2 separate regions of the Homo sapiens genome follow, and region 1 is linked to region 2. The links are contacts of gene promoters, found by promoter capture Hi-C in blood cells and fetal thymus (Javierre and others, 2016). All regions are on one chromosome and are shown on one strand. The core of a region is centred on a gene start or on the middle of the fragment in contact, and the rest is flanking DNA. Distances in the headings are between cores, read along the strand shown. Region 1 has its middle 23 kb from the start of LY6D. Region 2 holds the start of LY6S-AS1 (LY6S antisense RNA 1).

What was found. The method cuts DNA at HindIII sites, captures the fragments that hold promoters and counts their contacts. A CHiCAGO score of 5 or more calls a contact.
Region 1: a fragment that was not itself captured here is called in contact with the fragment with the promoter of LY6S-AS1 in region 2 in 3 of 17 cell types (naive CD8 T cells, total CD8 T cells and activated CD4 T cells); the score reaches 6.9 in naive CD8 T cells.

The regions. Positions count from the first base shown.
Region 1 is chr8:142,806,338-142,812,855 of GRCh38, forward strand. No RefSeq gene overlaps it. Among named protein-coding and RNA genes, the nearest start is that of LY6D, 23 kb to the left of the region's middle. The HindIII fragment of the contact is 7,507 bases long and covers 344-6,518 here.
Region 2 is chr8:143,036,530-143,042,972 of GRCh38, forward strand. LY6S-AS1 (LY6S antisense RNA 1) reads left to right here and starts at 2,680. Exons shown (of 6, transcript NR_149322.1): 1 at 2,680-3,040; 2 at 6,429-6,443. LY6S (lymphocyte antigen 6 family member S) reads right to left here. Exons shown (of 4, transcript NM_001406478.1): 4 at 4,310-6,443. RefSeq lists enhancers at 2,352-2,903, 4,925-5,500, 6,077-6,443. The HindIII fragment of the contact is 8,465 bases long and covers 1-3,397 here.

The DNA of each region.
Region 1 (6,518 bases), core at 2,847-5,346, 230 kb before region 2:
GTCCCTTGGTCCTGAGCCTCTGGGCCCCTACTCCCTGCAGCTTGGGCCCTGTCCTGGGTGTTCTCAGAGGGTCATGGCTCTACCTCTGCAGCCTGGGGGGACTGCCCAGCGCACTTGTGAGTACGTACAGCCCCCTCCCCGCTGCTTCTGAGTATGTGCAGCCCCTCCCCGCCGCTTCTGAGTACGTACAGCCCCCTCCCCGCCGCTTCTGAGTAGGTACAGCCTCATCCCTGGTGCTTCTGAATATCTATGGCCCCCTCCCCTCTGCACTCTCCCTTGCACCAGGGTAGGCAGGGGTCACCAAACCCATTCTAATGGGGAAACTGAGGCACTGGAGGCTGGAAGCTTTGAGCCAGTGCTTCTTAATCTTCAGTGTGCACACAAATCACCTAGGATCCGGTCGAAATGCTGGCTGTGGAGGCCTGGGCGGGGCCTGGAATGGTGCAGGCTCCTTGGGGTGGTGTTGCCTGTCTAGGGTAGGCTTAGCTTGGGCCAGTGGCAGAGCCAAGGTGCACAGGGCAGCCTGGCCATGTCTGAATCACTACCCATCCAACCCCAGGCCAGGCCTGGGGGACTGTGGGGTGACAGGGATATTCTAGGGTCACGGGACATGGCCTGTTTACAGTGGGGCTGGCCCCATTTCTATCCTCAGGGTCTCTCTGGGGTTCTGGAGGCTGAGGGGCAGCAGCTCACAAGCTCAAATCCCCTGGGAGTCTCTCCTCCAACCCCCAATGTCTCCCTGCTTCAGGATGGCTCCCCTTCTGGTCTCCTTCCACCTCCCCCTCCTCATCCTGTCTGCCCTCCCCACTGGGATTGGCTCCAGTCCTCTCTACCCCTTGCATGAGACACTTACACTCACCTTCAGCCTTTCCCAGGCCTTCCCTTGTACCCTGAACACGCTTCTCCCCTGCTGCCCCATCAGCAAGATTGCCTTGTCTGGAGCACTCTGTATCCCCTCTGTCTGGACCTGTGCCCTAGAGGTGCCCCTGAGGGCCTGAATCCCATTCCCGACCTCTGCACAGACCCAAGAGCCCAAGGGCCCTCTTCTCCATCCACCCTCGGAAGCTAGGCCAAGCTGCTGGGCACCCACCCCAAGGCTGGAAGGTGGGGCTGGATGCCCAGGTCGGGGCCATGCAGGATGTCGGGGGGTGGGGCAGGCAAGCTCCAGGGCTGGGACTGGCTCTCTCTGCAGCCATCTCCCAGCATGAAGGCCAAGGAGTCTGGAATTTGAATGAACACCAGGCTTTCCCTGTGGTGTTGATGTTATATTTGTCAACAGTATTTTATTTTAACTGTTTTTTAGCTCCTTTGAAAACTTACATATCTGGGGACACACATGGCATGTGGGCTCCCATTGCCTTGACCCCCAGTGGAAAGGAAGGATCATTTCCTTTCAGCTCCTCTTGCTCCGCTCACTCCAGGTCACCTCTGGGCTTAGCGGCTTCCTGGCCATGGGTCATGGCAGCGTGTGAGCTGCAAAGCTGCCATGGGACAGGGACTGGACTCTGGGGCGGGCACCTTTGCAGACACAACCTCAGTCCTCAGCCCAGGCCTGGGAAGGTTTCCTCATCCACCCCTTGGTGGGGTTGAGGGTCAGGGCCGGTGGGAGGAACCGAGACCCGTGGTGTAACAGGACAGCTGGGCGTTGCAGGCCCTGACACAGCCTCTGAGGGGAGGGGAGGGGGCTCCACACACACCTGCCAGGAGGCCCCTTATGGGTACTTTGAGGCAGGGAGCATTTCTTCAGCTTCCCTGCAGGGCCCTGCCCCAGGAAGAAAGGCATGGTGAGCTGCCAGTGCCACCGTGGATGGCACAGACTGTGATGTGCCCTTCCTCCCCCCATCCCAGTGCCACAGGGCTCTGAGTCTGTGAAAGCAAAGAAGGGGCAGGGTCGCAGCAGCAGCAGCAGTGGGCTGGGGAGAGATCCCCGGTGCTGGGCTCCACCTGCCCTGAGTAGTAACCAATCTGCACAAGGCTGGGCCCCTTCCGCTGCAGAGGCAGGACAGGGGCTGGGGCGGATGGGTGCCTGTGTGAGTGTGACTGTGTGTGAGGCTGTGTGTGAGTGTAAGACTGTGAGAGTGTGAGTGTATGAGAGTGTGAGACTGAGTTAGTGTATGAGCATGTGTGTGTATGAGTGTGTGTATGAGTGTGAATGACAGTGAGTGTATGAGTGTTAGTGTGAGAATGTGTGAATATGAGTGTGTGTTAGTATAGTGTGAGTGCATGTGTATAAGTATGTGAATGAATGAGTGCATGTGAGTGTGTTAGTGTATGAGCTTGAGTGTGTGTGAGTGTATGGGGATGTGTGAGTGTATGAGTGTGTGAATGACAATAAGTGTATGAGTGTGTGTGAGTGTGTGTGTAAGGTGTGTGTGGATGTAAGTGTGTTAGTATAGTGTATGAGTGTGAGTGCGTGTGTATAACTGTGTGTATGTGAGTGAATGAGTGTGTGAATGAGACTGTGTAAGACTGTGTGTGTGATGCTATGTGTGAGTGTACAAGTGTGCACGAATATGTGTGTGAATGACAGTGTATGAGTGTAAGTGTGAGAGTTGAGTGTGTTAGTGTGAGTGTATGAGTGCATGTATATGAGTGTGAGAGTGAATGTGAAAGTGTGTGTGCAGTGAGTGTATGTGTGTGAAAGTGTGAGTGTCAGTGTATGCGTGTGAGAATGTGAATGAGTGTGAACGAGTGTGTGTGTGTGTGAGTGAGCATAGTGTATGAATGTGAGTGTGCAAGTGTGAGTGTGAGGATGCGAGTGTGGTGCATGTGTATATGTGAGTGAATGTGAGTGTGTGTATAAGTGTGAGAGTGAGTGTGAGAATGTGTGTGAGTGTGTTAGTATAGCATGAGTGTATGAGTGAGAAATGAGTTCATGTGTATGAGTGTGTATGTGAGATTGAATATGAGTGTGAAAGTGTCAGTGAGTGTATGAGTGTGTGTTAGTATGAGGATGTATGTGAGACTGAATGTGTGTGTGACAGTGTGACTAAGTGTGAGAGTATGTGTGTGTGCATAAGTGTGTGTGTGAGAAACAGTGTGAGCGTGTGTGAGAGGGTGTATGAGTGTGTGTGTGAGGGTGTGCGGGTGTATGAGTCTGAGTGTGTGTGTGGTGGGACACACATTAGCATAAATCGTCACAGCCAGATGACACCAGTGGGATGGCAGTTTGCAGTCTGGCTGTGCAGGGCCAGCCGCCGCTTCCTGGAGAAGGCCAGGTGGGCTCGGCTGCATTTTGAAGTACAAGCACAGAGAGGCGGGAACTTGAGAGAGAGGACTAGCTTGTGTAGATGGCACACCAGGGCACAGTGAATCCCAGAAACTCAGTATGGGCATCAGCTGGATTTTACCCCGTGCACACCACGTGCACCCGTGCACAGTTCTCAAACTGTCGTCTATATTCTTGGGAGTGAAAGCTGTTTTTCCTTCAGCAGAAGGCTCTGACAAATGCTCAACTCAATGATTTCTCAAAAGGCCTTTTAGGAGCAAGATTCTGCAGCCCCCACAAGGTGGGCGTATAGGAGAGGGGCCATCCTTCTGGGCTCTCAGGGAAGGCTCCGAGGGAAGAGCTGAGGGCAGGGGCTGCCCTGGGCTGGGCTGGGGGTGGGCGTTGGAATGAAGCCTTGCCGCCCACTGCCAGCTGCCCTACTGCCAGCTGCCCTGGCTTCCTCTGCCTGGGGGAAGGCTTGGGCCATTCCTCTTTAAGCTAATCAGGCATTTTACAAGCCGAGTCCGAGTCTTTTATAAGCTAGGTGTTCTCCAAATACAGCCCAGGCTTTCTCTCAGGGCCATAATTAATGGGGCCTCCCCAGCCTGGCATTAGACTCAACTCCCTAGGGTGGCTGAGAGGGGACTCAGGGATGAGCAGGGCAGGTGAAGGAACAGGGGCACGGGTGAGGTTCCACAGGAGCTACATCCCAGCAAGGAACCTGCCAGCCCGGAGGAGCTCGATCCCGCCTACAGGAAGGGACCTGGGACCCCGGTTAGGAGCCCTAGACCTCTGAGTGAACCAGTGGATGAGTCCTGCTCCCGCTCCCTCCCTCTGAAAGCCCTTCCCTCCCTCCAGCCCTCCCTCCACCCCTCTCTCTTTCCCACCCTCCAGTTTTCTCTGCCCTCCTTCCTCCTTCCCTTCCTCCACCCTATTCCCTCCCTTCACCCCTCCAACCACTCATTTTTCTTTCCTTCCCTTCACGCCTCCCTCCACCCCTCCCTCTTTCTCTCTCTCTTTCCCTCTCTCCACCCCCCCCTCTTTTCCTCCCTCTTTCTTTCCCTCCACCCCTCCCTTTTTCCCTCCTTCCATCCTTCCCTTTCTCTCAGCCTTGCCTCTCTCTAGCCAGTGCAGGGGGCAGGGGCTGGAGGGGCATTAGACCCAGGCCCCAGAATTGCAGTGGGCACATGCCAGCCACACTGAGTCTCTAGAGATTTTCAGGACCTTGTTCTCTTCATGCCCAGTTCGGTAGCTGGAAACCTGCATTCACCTCATAGCAGCCTCTAGCCAATGGGCGGAGGGCATCCCTGTCCTGTCCTCTAGCCAATGGCGGAGGGCATCCCTGTCCTGTCCTCTAGCCAACAGGCGGAGGGCATCCCTGTCCTGTCCTCTAACCAATGGGCGGAGGGCATCCCTGTCCTGGCCTCACAGTGAGGAAGCGCTTCATAGATCACAGCTCAAGGCCCACTCGGGCCACTCCTCCTCCACCTGATGCCTGCAGAGCCCCACAACACCTCCTTGAGGCTGCCCAGGGCCCCTTACGCCCTCTGGGGCCCCCCAGTCACTGGCCCAGAGTGGGTGAGGCCCAAGTGGTGCCCTAGTGGCATGAGCTTGTCCGAGTAGAGGAGGATCCTGGGAGTGTAGCCAGTGCCACCTCCCTGCCCAATTCACACAGGGAAAACTGAGTCCGGGTGCAGGTGGAGGAGTCAGGATTTCAACTAAGGCCCCTAAGCCGGCAGCAAGCGCAGGAAAGGAGCTGTGCTGGGGACTCAGATGCTGGCGTGGGGCTCCCGTGCCCATGTGCCCCATGAGGGCCCCTGTGCCAGGGGAATGTGGGGTCACTCGGGAGTTCACGGCCTGGGCTCGAACCAGAGAGAGGACGCAAGGAATCCCAGTTCCTTCCGCAGGGAGAGATGGGGCCACCTTGAAAGGTATCTACACCCACCAGCCCCAGTTCAGGTCTCAGCCCCACTCATGCCCATGCTGTGGGGTGTTGGGCCAGCCCCTCAATCTCTCCAAGCCTGCAATTGGTTGTCTGAAGAAAAAGAGTGACAGCAATGCTGACCAGCACAGAAGGCTGCTCTGGGGTGGGCTTAGCGGTGGATGGGGAGGCCCAAAACCCAGCCAGCAACCAGCAGTGCCCACCCAGCACCCGTATCTTGACTCCTGACATCCTTCTTCACTCACAGGAATGAGCACTACTTGGAGAAAGGGCTGATTCTAGGGATGGAATGCGGGAACACAAGATGAGCCTGAAGTAGTTTTTTTTTGTTTTTTTTTTGAGACGGAGTCATGCTCTGTCACCCAGGCTGGAGTGCAGTGGCGTGATCTCAGCTCACTACAAGCTCTGCCTCCCGGGTTCACGCCATTCTCCTGCCTCAGCCTCCCGAGTAGCTGGGACTACAGGCGCCTGCCACCACGCCCAGATAATTTTTTGTATTTTTAGTAGAGATGGGGTTTCACCGTGTTAGCCAGGATGGTCTCGATCTCCTGACCTCGTGATCCACCTGCCTCGGCCTCCCAAATTGCTGGGATTACAGGCGCGAGCCACTGCGCCCAGCCAAAGTACCTTTAAAAACAAAACAAAACCAAAACCAAACTTCTTTATTGAGATATAATTCATTTCATGAAACTCACCCATTTAAAGTGAACAGTTCAGTGGTTTCAGTACTGCATAGTTGCAGGGTTGTGCAACCATCACCACAATCTAATTTTGGGATGTTTTTACTCCGAAAAGAAACCTGTGCCCATCAGCCGTCAGTGCCAGCTTCCCTGCTCCCAGCCCCTGGCAACCCCTGCTTCACTTTGCCTCCGTGTGAATTTGTCTGTTCTGCACTTGTCATGCAAAGGGGATCATATACTATGTGGCCTCTGTGTCTGGCTTCTGTCCCTGAGCACCAAGTTCTCAAGGCTCACTGCCTTGTTGCCTATGTCAGTGCTTGATTCCACGGAATGTACTCCATGTGGATAGAGCACATTTGTCTATCGGTTCATCAGTTGAAGGACATTTGGGTTGTGGAAGACCATGTGGGGCCAGAAAAGAAGAAAATCCTAAAAAAAAGACCCAAAATGATGCGGACTGTGAAAGGAATAGATCAGGCAGCTGAAAACCCTTCCAATGGCCAGAGCTGGAACAATTTGAGCAGCAAAATAAATAACAGTATTGGATTATACTCCTGTGCATAAAATAAATGTTTACAAGTCCATAATGATATCAATAAATGATTGAAGAAAGAAGGATATTGGAAAGAAAAGACCAATCTTCTGCATAAGAATTCCAAATAATTTACATAGATACTTTGCTTGAAAA
Region 2 (6,443 bases), core at 1,430-3,929:
GTGACATCAGAAATTAATAATATGGAAATTATGTACATATTAGGATACACAAGTTAGTTATTTCTTTGGATAAACTAAAAACTTTGATAACTCTTGCTTTTTTTTTTTTTTTTTTTTTTTTTTGAGACAGGGTCTCACTCTGTTGCCAGGGCTGGAGTGCAGTGGTGCAATCTCAGCTGACTGCAACCTCCGCCTCCCAGGTTCAAGCAATTCTTGTGTTTCAGCCTCCCAAGTAGCTGGGATTACAGGCTTGTGCACCATGCCCGGCTAATATTTGTTATTTTTTGTAGAGATGAGGTTTCACCATGTTGGCCAGGCTGGTCTCAAACTCCTGACCTAAAATTATCCACCTGCCTCAACCTCCCAAAGTGCTGGAATTACAGGTGTGAGCCACCACGCCCAGCCTTAAAAATGTGGATAATTCTTGTGGGAGACCAGTCAAGAAAAGAAGAGGAGAAAAACAGCCATAATAGCAATGGGGAAAAAATCAGGATCAACAGAGTCTTCAGCCGGGCGCAGTGGCTCACACCTGTAATCCCAACACTTTGGGAAGCCGAGGCAGGTGGATCCCTTGAGCCCAAGGGAGAAATAGCGAAGGGGGACACGTCACACTTTCAAACCATCAGATCTCCTGAGAACTCACTCACTATCACCAGAACAGCAAGGGGGAGGTCTGACCCCACGATCCAATCACCTCCCACGTGGCCCCTCCGCCAATTCCACATGAGATCTGGGCGGGGACACAAATCCAAACCATCTCATCCTGTAACTTCTTTCTCCCTAAAGGGTATAAAATCGAGCTGTACCCCGGCCACCTTGGGCACATGTTCCCCGAACCTCCTGAGTCTCTGTCATGTGAGGTCATGGTCCTCACATTTGGCTCAGAATAAACCTCTTCAAATATTTTAGAGTTTGGCTTTCTTTCATCAACACATCCCATCCTGTAAAACGCAGAGTAAGCCGGAGAGAATGGCTCACACCTGTAATCTCAACACTTTGGGAGACCAAGATGGGAGGATCATTTGAGGCCAGGAGTTCAAGAGACCAGCTTGGCCAACAAAGCAAGACCTCATCTCTAAAAAAAAAATAAGTAAATAAAAACAAATGTGAGTGACTTCACTCTTCTCTCCCAGAGCCTCCAGTTGTCACTTTTCTGAGTTTCTTCAGGGTCTCTTGAACTGTACTCAGGGTGTCAAGAGGTACAGTTGGGAAGGATGGGGGCCTCTAATGAGGGGGTTAAGAGCATCATTCTGGAGGAGACATGAGGGAGGCAGCAGAGAGGGGCTGTGGTGTGGCCTTCACACACTGCAACTCCTGGAGGTCGGGCAGGGGCAGGATGTCCAGACAGTGGACGCATGAGTGGGGAAGCCTTCAGCCACCCTGACTCCACCTAGGAGGTGCCCCAAGGCAGAACCAGCAGCTGAGCCTGGCCAGCCCCGGCAGCGATGAGAGACAGTAGGTTTTGGGGTGACCAACAGGGAGCCCCAGCAGGAGCCCAGCAGGAGAGAGAAGCTGGATATTGATCCTGCTGGCCCCTCCTGCAGTCCGCAGGACTGTCCACAGCCCTCGCTCCTCTTAAGCAGCTCACCTGCCTTGGTGGCCCCTCCCCTCCTGGCCCCTCCTTTTGGGCCTGGGTTGGGGGTGGCAGGGGTCCTGTCCCTGCACCCGGAGTGGAGTGGGATATGGCACTGGAATGTTTCTAGGCAGCCCACTCCTGTAAGAGGGCCTGGGGCTGGGCCCAGTAGTTCACACCTGTAATCGCAGCACTTTGGGAGGCTGAGGCAGGAGGATCGCTTGAGCCTCGGAGTTCGAGAGCAGCCTGGGCAACATAGAGACCCCACTTCTACTTGAGAGACACACAGAGAGAGAGAGAGGGAGGGAGGGAGAGAGGGAGGGAGGGAGAGAGAGAGGGAGGGAGGGAGAGAGAGAGGGAGAGAGGGAGGGAGGGAGAGAGAGAGAGAGAGAGAGAGAGAGAGAGAGAGAGAGAGAGAGAGAGAGAGAGAGAGAGAGAGAGAGAGAGAGAGAGGGAGAGAGAGAGAGAGGGAGGGAGGGAGGGAGGGAGAGAGAGAGGCTTCTGGTAAATGCTCCTATTTTGCAAACTCTCTTCCTATTTTGTGATTAGGATGCTCCATCAGTTTCTGCCACCAGCTTGCTGGAGACGCTGCGTGTCCCTGACTCCTCTCAAAGGGTGAAAAGCTCAGTCGCACCCGAGACCTGCTCCTCAGGCAGAGGATGAACTGAGTCCCCGCCCCACCGCCCGTCTGGCCTCTGTGAGAGTGGCGTGCAGGCTGACCCTGGAAGCAGAGGGACATTCGAACGGGCCGGCGGCCTTCTCCCCGCTAGGCTGGGCTCCGGGGTGGGCGGAGAGTGGCCGCCACAGGCCATCAGCGTCCGGGGTTCTGGAAGCAGGGAGGGCAGAGGCTGGCCCAGCCTATGGGAGACCCTGCAGAGGCGTGGCCTCCAGGCTAATCCTACCCCAGCTGCCCCAGGGCGGGATTTCTTTTCTTTTTTCCTTTAATCTCTTTATCTACAGGCGCCGAGGCTTAATGAGCTCCAGATGTCTCAACATACCAGGAGAGGTTTAGGATCCCCTGCCAAATACAAGGGAGATAAGAACGCACCAGACTTGCACAAACCAGAGCTGGTGACCCCCAGTTCCCTTTAAATCAGCGACATGTCATTACAAGGCGGAAGTCCTGCCCGAGAGGACAGTCCCCAGGCCTTGCTAAGCATGCGTGGTATCAAGAGGTGCATTGAGGCGCTCCTGCAGCCTCCTCCCGGCACGGGACTCCTCACAACCCCCAGCCTCAGCTTCCCTGACAGGGCAGGGGCTCACTCTTCTCCACTCCGGGCCAGGAACGCAGCCTGCTTGCCTTTTGTCCAATTGGGTGCTCTTTCTTTGCGACTGATACAAAGTGGGAACAAACTCCGCTTCCGGTGATGCCCGGGCCCCAGGAGGCTGGGGGAGAAGTGCACGCTGCCCAGCCTTCAACCTGAACTGCCCCCAGCACTTCCGAGCCCCGACCCCTGCAGCTGTGAGGTGAGGTGGGGAGGGGGCGGCCTGCGGGGAGGGGGCTGCCTGCGGGGAGGGGGCTGCCTGCAGGGCGGGCCGTGTGGGTCCCCCGAGCGTGGGGGACCAGTGACGTCAGGCAACATTTCTCCAAAGGCTCCCTCACCTTGTCCTTTGGCATCTGGGGTGCTCAGAGGAAGGGGGAAGCCGGGAGGGTGTGGAGAGGGTCACTGGAGAGGGGAAAGGCCAGAGTGATCCCCTTGGGGACGAGGCAGAGGAAAAGCTGTGGAGACCTAAAGAGAAGAGGTGGGGTGCGCCTGGGCCTCTCAAGTTTGTTTCCCAGAACCAGGGAAGGTTACAGTGGAAGGGAGGACCCTGTGGGGAAGAAGCTTCCAGAGACCTTCTGGAGAGGTGAGCCAAAGGCGAGCCATGGCCAGAAACCCCAGGCCTGCTGCAGTGGAGAGTCAGTGCTGCAGGAGGCTTGGGAATCAGGGCTGCCCTCCTTGGGCTGAACCCTCTATCTAGGGGACAATGGCCCTGGGCAAAAGCACTGCTTTCTGGGCCCCCTGGAGGGTAGGGCATGACACTGTGGTGCTAGAGGCAGGGGGGACATGAGGAGGTAGACGAATGTCCTGAGTCACCAGGTACAACCACTGCACCCCATTGTGACTGCCCCTGTGTCCGACACAGATTTGGGGGGTCTGGAATGTCCCTTGAGCTCCTTAGGCACTCATGAATTTCTAGTTGAGCAAATAAAATGTCCAAGATGCCCAGTTTGATCTGAATCTCAGATAAACAACAAATAGTCATTTTTACCAATGTTTGGGACATACTTATGCTAAAAATTGTTTATCTGAAATTCATATTTAATTGGGCATCTTACCCCATTGACCCTAATTAGCAAATCACATCCAGGAGTACAGGGCATGGCTGGGTGGTGGCTGTCACACTGTGCAGTCAGAGGGACCAGGACGTCTTGGATGCAGGCGTCTGGCCAGCGTGGAAGGCCAGGACCTGGTCACGAGATGTGGCTCCCGGCATGGCAGGTCAAAGACTGCTGGTCGTCTGAGCCCAGCCCTGACTCCAGGCTGAGATGGCCATTCACCCAGACCTTGAGCCCTGCCCTGACTCCAGGCTGAGACGGCCGTCCACCCAGACCATTCTGAGCCCTGCCCTGACCCCAGGCTGAGATGGTCATCTATCGGGGGAAATTCACCCCCGATATTTCATGTAGGTTCTTTTCTATTTTCCCTAAGTGTCGGCCAGTCTGAGAAATAAAGGGACAGAGTACAAAAGAGAGAAATTTCAAAGCTGGGCGTCCGGGGGAGACATCACATGTCGGCAGGTTCCGTGATGCCCCCTGAGCCGTAAAACCAGCAAATTTTTATTAGTGATTTTCAGAAGGGGAGGGAGTGTACAAATAGGATGTGGGTCACAGAGATCACATGCTTCACAAGGTAATAAGATATCACAAGGCAAACGGAGGCAGGGCGAGATCACAGGACCACGGGACCGGGGCGAAATTAAAATTGCTAATGAAGTTTTGGGCACACATTGTCATTGATAACATCTTATCAGGAGACAGGGTTTGAGAGCAGACAACCAGTCTGACCAAAATTTATTAGGCGGGAATTTCCTCATCCTAATAAGCCTGGGAGCACTGCGGGAGACTGGGGCTTATTTCATCCCTTATCTACAACTGTAAAAGGCAGCCGTCCCCAAAGCAGACATTTCAGAGGCCTCCCCTTAGGGATACATTCTCTTTCTCAGGGATGTTCCTTGCTGAGAAAAAGAATTCAGCGATATTTCTCCTATTTGCTTTTGAAAGAAGAGAAATATGGCTCTGTTTCACCTGGCTCACAGGCAACCAGAGTTTAAGGTGATCTCTCTTGTTCCCTGAACGTTGCTGTTACCCTGTTCTTTTTTCAAGGTACCCAGATTTCATATTGTTCAAACACACATGCTCTGCAAACAATTTGTGCAGTTAACACAATCATCACAGGGTCCTGAGGCAATATACATCCTCCTCAGCTTACGAAGATGATGGGATTAAAAGATTAAAGACAGGCATAGGAAATCACAAGGGTATTGATTGGGGAAGTGATAAGTGTCCATGAAATCTTCACAATTTATGTTCAGAGATTGCAGTAAAGACAGGCATAAGAAATTATAAAAGTATTAATTTGGGGAACTAATAAATGTCCATGAAATCTTCACAATTTATGTTCTTCTTCCATGGCTTCAGCCGGTCCCTCTGTTTGGGGTCCCTGACAATAGCCGTCCACCCAGACTGTTCTGAGCCCAGCCCTGACTCCAGGCTGAGACGGCCGTCCACCCAGGGCGTTCTCAGCCCAGCCCTGACTCCAGGCTGAGACGGCCGTCCACCCAGGGCGTTCTCAGCCCAGCCCTGACTCCAGGCTGAGACGGCCGTCCACCCAGGGCGTTCTCAGCCCAGCCCTGACTCCAGGCTGAGACGGCCGTCCACCCAGGGCGTTCTCAGCCCAGCCCTGACTCCAGGCTGAGACGGCCGTCCACCCAGGGCGTTCTCAGCCCAGCCCTGACTCCAGGCTGAGACGACCGTCCACCCAGGGCGTTCTCAGCCCAGCCCTGACTCCAGGCTGAGATGACCGTCCACCCAGACCATTCTGAGCCCAGCCCTGACTTTCTGTCCAGAGTGCAGTCCTGAAGGAGCCCCTTTCTCCCACCACCAGGGGAGACCAGTCTAACCCCTGACACGGGGCATCATGGGAGCCCTAGCCAGGGCACAGAAATGACAGGCCTGGCCCACACCACAGGATGGCTGGTGGCCGCAGGAGCTCTGCCTCTTGGTGACCATCCAGAGGCTCTCTGACAACCCTACTCAGATGTTCCCTGGAGCCACATGGCAAGAGTTCTGCCAGAAGAGCCATGAGCCTGGCACTCTGTGGGTTCTGGTCCCTGGGGGGGCACCCGTGCCCCAGGAGCACCTCCCCAAGGCCATGGTGCCAGCAGGATGTTGCAGAGGCCTGAGGTCAGAGTGGCAGGTGGGCGGCCTCAGGAATGGTGAGGAAGAAGCCGAGTGCTGACGCTGAGTGGGTCAGCAAAGGGCTGTTTGTTGACCTTGAGAGGGAGGCCCTCATCCTGTGTGGGAGGCCAGCAGGGCCCCCTGGGACCACGTTCCCTCCTTGCTTGGATTCAGGTAGCCCAGAGAGCTGAGGGGTTGGCCCTGGCTCCTCGGCAAGTTAGTGGCAAGCTGGATGGAGCTGGGGACTCCCGCCCTGGGCCACGGTTTCTCTATGACCCTAGGTCCCAAGCAGCCAGTGGTGGGGCCTGGTCTCTGAGGCCCAGCTCTGAAAAAAGTGGTGTTGTTGGGGGGCATGGGCTGGAGGGCCTGGGCCCAGAGGACAAGGAGTTTAAGCAGGGATATGTTCCCTGACAGGGAAGCCCCGACCTC